Linked DNA regions of Homo sapiens: region 1 is linked to region 2. The links are contacts of gene promoters, found by promoter capture Hi-C in blood cells and fetal thymus (Javierre and others, 2016). All regions are on one chromosome and are shown on one strand. The core of a region is centred on a gene start or on the middle of the fragment in contact, and the rest is flanking DNA. Distances in the headings are between cores, read along the strand shown. Region 1 overlaps SETD1A (SET domain containing 1A, histone lysine methyltransferase). Region 2 holds the start of AHSP (alpha hemoglobin stabilizing protein).

Evidence for each region. Contacts are between HindIII fragments. The CHiCAGO score rates a contact against its expected background, and 5 or more counts as called.
Region 1: a contact is called between a fragment that was not itself captured here and the fragment with the promoter of AHSP in region 2, in 1 of 17 cell types (total CD4 T cells). The highest score is 6.0, in total CD4 T cells.

The regions. Positions count from the first base shown.
Region 1 is chr16:30,968,244-30,971,381 of GRCh38, forward strand. It overlaps SETD1A (SET domain containing 1A, histone lysine methyltransferase), which reads left to right. Exons shown (of 19, transcript NM_014712.3): 11 at 1,062-1,219; 12 at 1,359-1,446; 13 at 3,135-3,138. Among named protein-coding and RNA genes, the nearest start is that of SETD1A, 12 kb to the left of the region's middle. The HindIII fragment of the contact is 6,620 bases long and covers 1-3,138 here.
Region 2 is chr16:31,526,322-31,529,528 of GRCh38, forward strand. It overlaps AHSP (alpha hemoglobin stabilizing protein), which reads left to right and starts at 1,579. Exons shown (of 3, transcript NM_016633.4): 1 at 1,579-1,641; 2 at 1,815-1,893; 3 at 2,137-2,482. The coding sequence starts at 1,819. The coding sequence ends at 2,370. The HindIII fragment of the contact is 1,316 bases long and covers 587-1,902 here.

The DNA of each region.
Region 1 (3,138 bases), core at 465-2,964, 560 kb before region 2:
AAAATACAAAACAGCCAGGCATGGTGGTGTTCACCTGTAATCCCAGCTACTTGGGAGGCAGAGGCACGAGAATCACTTGAACCCAGGAGGTGGAGGTTACAGTGAGCCAAGATTATGCCACTGCACTTCAGCCTGGGTGATAGCACGAGACTGTGTCTCAAAAAAAAAAAAAATACATATATATATATATATGTACACACACATATGTATATACACACAAATATATACACACACACATATATATATACACACACATATGCGTATCTGTATATATTAAGGCCAGGCAGGGTGGAGCTCACCTGTAATCCCAGCACTTTGGGAGGCCGAGGCGGGTGGATCACAAGGTCAAGAGATCGAGACCATCCTGGCCAACATGGTGAAACCCCGTCTCTACTAACAATAGAAAAATTAGCCAGGCGTGGTGGCGGGTGCCTATAGTCCCAGCTACTTGGGAGACTGAGGCAGGAGAATTGCTTGAACCCGGGAGGCAGAGGCTGCTGTGAGCTGAGATTGTGCCACTGCACTCCAGCCTGGCGACAAAGCGAGACTCCGTCTCAAAAAAAAAAATATATATATATATGCCAGGCACGATGGCTCACGCCTATAATCCCAGCACTCCAGGAGGCTGAGGCAGGAGGATCACTTGAACCCAGGAGTTCAATACCAGCCTGAGCAACATAGGTAGACCCTGTCTCTACAAAAATTTTTAAAAATTAGCTGGGTATGATTGCATGCCCCTGTATAGTCCCAGTTACTCAGGAGACCGAGGCAGGAGGATCGCTTGAGCCCAGCAGGTTGAGGCTGCAGTGAGCTGTGGTCATGCCACTGCACCCCAGCCTGAGTGACAGAGCAAGACCCCGTCCCAAAAACAAAAACAAATACAAAACTATGAAACATGAGGTAACTGAGGTGTTTGAGTTCCTCTGGTGAGCTTCCAAATTCTCATCTGTGAAATGAAGACCATCAGGAAGATTGGTAATAGTATATGTAAAGCCCCTTGCACAGGGCAAGTATCTTGTGGTTGATGGTAAATTTCCCCAACTACCACTCTGCTGGCCTAGACCCTGAACAAGAGAAGGAGGCTGGAGAGCCAGGACGTCCGGGGACCAAGCCCCCGAAGCGGGACGAAGAGCGAGGCAAGACCCAGGGCAAGCACCGCAAGTCCTTTGCTCTGGACAGCGAAGGGGAGGAGGCATCCCAGGAGTCCTCCTCGGAGAAGGTGAGGGCCCGGGCGCCGGCTCCTGGCCGAAGCCTACTTCCCATAGCCAGCATCTTTGTGGTTGGAGCCCAGGCAGCTGTGCCTGGTGTAGGACCAGTTGTCCCCTTCCTGTTAGTCCTCATTTGTCTTTTTTCTTAAGGATGAGGAGGATGACGAGGAAGATGAGGAAGATGAAGATCGAGAGGAAGCTGTGGATACCACAAAGAAGGAGACAGAGGTGTCGGATGGTGAGCACAAGACAGTGAAATCGACTTTGGGCTCGGAGGAGGGGTTCGGCTGCCTGGCTAGCCCTTTTCTGAGCCCACATGACCTTCCTGCTGGGCTTGTGGGTCACCTTTGCCTTCTGCAAGGGCATCTGTTTGGGCCACATTCTTAGGAACCCTTGGCCCCTTGACAGCAATAAGCTCAGTGCTCAAAATGCTCCCTCCTGCTCCCTCTTCTGCTGAGACATAGCTGTCCAAAAGGACAGCCTGGCAGAACGCTTTTTTTGTTTTGTTTTTTGTTGTTGTTGTTGTTGTTGTTTTGAGAGAGTTTCGCTCTTGTCGCCCAGGCTGGAGTGCAATGGCGCAATCTCGGCTCACTGCAACCTCCGCCTCCTGAGTTCAAGAGATTCTCCTGCCTCAGCCTCCGTTGTAGCTGGGATTACAGGCACCCACCACCACCCCCAGCTAATTTTTTGTATTTTTAGTAGAGACAGGGTTTCACTATGTTGGCCAGACTGGTCTTGAACTCCTGAGCTCAGGCGATCCACCCACCTCAGCCTCTGGAAGTGCTGGGATTACAGGCGTGAGCCACCACACCCAGATTTTTTTTTTTTTTTTTTGAGACAGAGTCTCGCTTTGTCACCCAGGCTGGAGTGCAGTGATGTGATCTTGGCTCACTGCAACCTCCGCCTCCCTGGTTCCAGCGATTTTCCTGCCTCAGCCTCCCAAAGCGCTGGGATTACAGGTGTGAGCCACCACACCTGGCTAATTTTTGTATTTTTAGCAGAGATGGGGTTTTACCATGTTGGCCAGGCTGGTCCCAAACTCATGACCTCAAGTGATCCACCCACCTCGGCCTCCCAAAGTGCTAGGCTTTCACCTGTGAGCCACTGCACGCAGCCTCTTGCAGCAGTCTTGACTGATTTCCCTGTCTCTCTTTCTGTCCTTCTCCCTCTGTTCCAGTCCATTTTCCAAACTGCTTATAGAATCTCTTTCCTAAAATGCACTCCTGACCCTGTGACTTCCCTCCATAAGGTCCTTCCTGGCAACTTGTTCTCCACAGGGTGTCCCCCCAGGCCAACACCATGGGCCGTTTATCTCCTGGCCCTGCTCTGTTCAGCTCCATCTCGCCCTCCTCCAGTCCGCTCCCCAGCTGCCACCACCTTCTAGTCTAACTTATCCAATTCTGTTCCTCAAAAACTGTGAAATTCTTCAGTTTTTTCGAGTCCTTCCCGTACATGAGCAGTCTCAGAATATAGAGCCTGTCGTGTTTTTTAACCTTTTCAGCCCAGAATCCTTTTTCACCCAATCCTTCGTCCAGACTGGGTCCTGAGACCCACTTTAGGAAGGTTTGAGTGCCAGAGCAGCCTGCTTCCCAGTCTCCAAGCCTCCACTTCCTCTTGCTTCCGACATCCCTGTGCAGTCCCCATGTCTGTGTGGTGGACTCCTTGTCCTTGAGTTCAGCTTGTCCCCTGGGATGCTTTCCTTTTCGGGCCTCTTCAGACAGAGTCTGGGGCTTCCTTTGCCATCCTCCCCGCATGCTGATGTTTATCTCACAGTGAAAATGGTTTGCTTATGCAGCTCCTTGGTCTGTTGGACTTCCCCGTCCCTAGCCCAGAGCCCAGCATCCACAGCAGGGAGTGAGTGAGGAGCCCACGGCTGGCCAAGTGAGGTCTGCCCACCTCTCCTGACTGCCCCTTCTGGATTTCCAGGCGA
Region 2 (3,207 bases), core at 329-2,828:
AGGTTACATACTGTATGATTCCATTTATATGACATCCTGAAAAAGGCTTAACTGTAGTGATGAACAGATAAGTGGTTGCCAGAAGTTATGGGTGAGGGTAGGGGTGGCTACAAAAGGGTAACGTGAAGGAGTGGTTTTTGGGTGACAGAAACATTCTGTATCTTAACTGCGTTTGTAGTTACACAAATCTGTTATAAAATTAATAAACTAGGCCAGATGCGGTAGCTCACACCTGTAATCCCAGCACTTTGGGAGGCCAAGGTGGGTCGATCACTTGAGGTCAGGAGTTCGAGACTAGCCTGGCCAACATGGTGAAACCCCATCTCTACTAAAATACAAAAATTAGCTAGGCGTGGTGATGCACGCCTGTAATCCCAGCTACTTGGGAGGCTGAGGCAGGAGAATCGCCTGAACCTGGGAGGTAAAGTTTGCAGTGAGCTGAGATCGCATCACTGCACTCCAGCCTGGGCCACAGAGGGAGACTCCCTCTCAAAAAAAAAAAATTTAATATACTGTACACCAAAAGGAAGTCAGTTTTGCTGTATATTGATTAAAAAATGCTACAACCAAAAAGGCAAATCAACAAAGCTTTATGAGTGTATAGGCACCTATGAATGTTGGGTTTTGAATGGAAAAAAAAAGTGACAGGAAATATACAATGTTTAATGCTGGTTACTTTGGAGGGGGCAAAAATGATTCAGTTTTTCAGTGTACGTTTTTGTATTGTTTTAATTATTTCAATTAGTATATAGTGATTTTGAAATTTGAGAAACATCTACTGAAAATGGAAAATATCTGGAAAAATATTTAAAAAGAGGAAAAAGAGTATTTCTGCTTTATTGGGTACCTGTTGACAGGGTAGTAAACAAGACAAATCCATCTCCATTCTTTTTTTTCTTTTGAGATGGAGTCTCGCCCTGTCACCCAGGCTGGAGTGCTGTGGTGTGATCTTGGCTCACTGCAACCTCTGCCTCCTGGGTTCAAGCGATTTTCGTGCCTCAGCCTCCCAAGTAGCTGAGACTACAGGTGCCCGCCACCACGCCCGGCTATTTATCTCCATTCTTATGGAGCACAGCGTGGTGGAGTTCAGTCCACACGCTTACAGGTGGCTTATCTGCAAAATGTGTCTAAAAAGAAATTTTATAGGATAAATATTTTGTACATGTTTGAAACAGTGCTTGGCACAAATGAATAAATGTAATGCAAGCTGCTATTAATACATCATCTCCGAATTGGGAGAATCATTGCGATCACATCGTTGTGATTACACAAAAGCCTCTGTCATGTAATAGGGCTCAGTAAACGTCAATTTCCATAGCATTTCGAGCCTGGATACTGAAATATGGGGCAAAAAGCAGGAACATGCCCCTGGTTTGGCTCTTGCCTTCTTGCATTTCCTGGGTTTCCTCATTTATCTTTTTTTTTTTTTTTTTTGGCCTTGTTATCTTTCTACCTTCAGGGAAGCCTCTCCCTTCTTCTCCTCCCTAGAATGACCTATCACCCTCCTTCAGGACCTAGATGCAGGGCGTTTCTATCTTAGGCTGACACTTGACTCCTTGCCTACATCTATAGCTTGGCACAGAGAGATTCACGCACCCTCAAGAGTGTGGGTGAGACATATACAGCCTGTTAGACCTGAAGGTGAGCCCAACCTGGGAAAATCGTGACCTCAGAGCAGGGCAGGATGTGAAAGGTTTTGGAAAGGAGATAGCCCTGCAGGGCAGGAGGGATTTTTAAGGGGAGGAAGTGGGTTGGGGGAAATACCCAGTGAGGAGGGAAACAGATATGTAAATTCTACCCTTTTCTCTACCCAGGCAGATGGCTCTTCTTAAGGCCAATAAGGATCTCATTTCCGCAGGATTGAAGGAGTTCAGCGTTCTGCTGAATCAGCAGGTGAGTCCAAGCTTTCCATTTCAAAGGACTGGCCTGGAGACTGGGGGGTGCCGGGGAAGTGGAGGAAGAGGATAATTGGAGCTGGTGAAGTAATGGTGGAGTTGATGGAAACAACGAGAGACACGGGATACAATGCAGAGGAAAGAGAATGTGAGAGTTGGTGCTGTGGCACTATTCTAGTATTCCCGAATCCCATTGCTGACCACATTCTCCCTTGCCAACTGCCTCTCCGCAACCCCCCAGGTCTTCAATGATCCTCTCGTCTCTGAAGAAGACATGGTGACTGTGGTGGAGGACTGGATGAACTTCTACATCAACTATTACAGGCAGCAGGTGACAGGGGAGCCCCAAGAGCGAGACAAGGCTCTGCAGGAGCTTCGGCAAGAGCTGAACACTCTGGCCAACCCTTTCCTGGCCAAGTACAGGGACTTCCTGAAGTCTCATGAGCTCCCGAGTCACCCACCGCCCTCCTCCTAGCTCAGGGACCCAGCCCCTCCTCTCTGAGAAACTCTGACCTTCATGTCCTTAGGCTGTGCTCCTGCCACTCTACCCTGACACCTCAATAAAGACCAGTGCTGGTTTTGTTGGACTTCCTGGCTTCTCTTTCATGGTCTGTCCTGACATGTGGAGGCACTCGGTCCCTTTCCTTCCGCCCTCCTTCTTAGATATGCTCTTGGAAGCTTAATTCCTTACAGCAGAGGTTAGCAGCCTTGAGTGACCACCGGGCAGCGATTCTAAACTAAAACAGGCTGAACGAGGGCCAGGAAGGCGGGACTAGAGAGAGTGCAGAGCTGCAGGGGAGGGGGTGGCAGAAACAAGAAAGGGGGATAGAAGTCCTCCAGACATTGTCCTGTGACCTGCTTGTCGAGGAGGAAACTGTTGGAAGTCTCCCAGTCTTGTTCATCCTGCGCCAGGTCCACCGCCTCGACTTTTCAATCCCCTGTCCTTAGCCCCAGCTCAAACTACATTCTAGGATCTTCGGACTCTGACTACCGCAAAATACCTCCCCGGAGCCCCAGGCATCGCAGGAATTTAGAGTTGGAAGGGATCCTGGGAACCCTTTAGCGCGCCCCTTATATTTCAGGAGGGGAAGCCACTTCCCTTTGGCTCCAACATCCCTGGGCGCAGATGCCAGGATTGGGAAGCAGAGGAATCCGCCTTCCCCCCACCCCAAGCTTCTCAGATCAATTCCCGGTCTAGCTCCCTTTCTCCCAGACCTCCAGACTCGAAGCCTCTATTTTAGGGCTCTGGGCGGAACCAGGGACGGGCCAGACTCAAGAGCTTTTTAAAAACGAAATGAAGGTGTTAGACCCG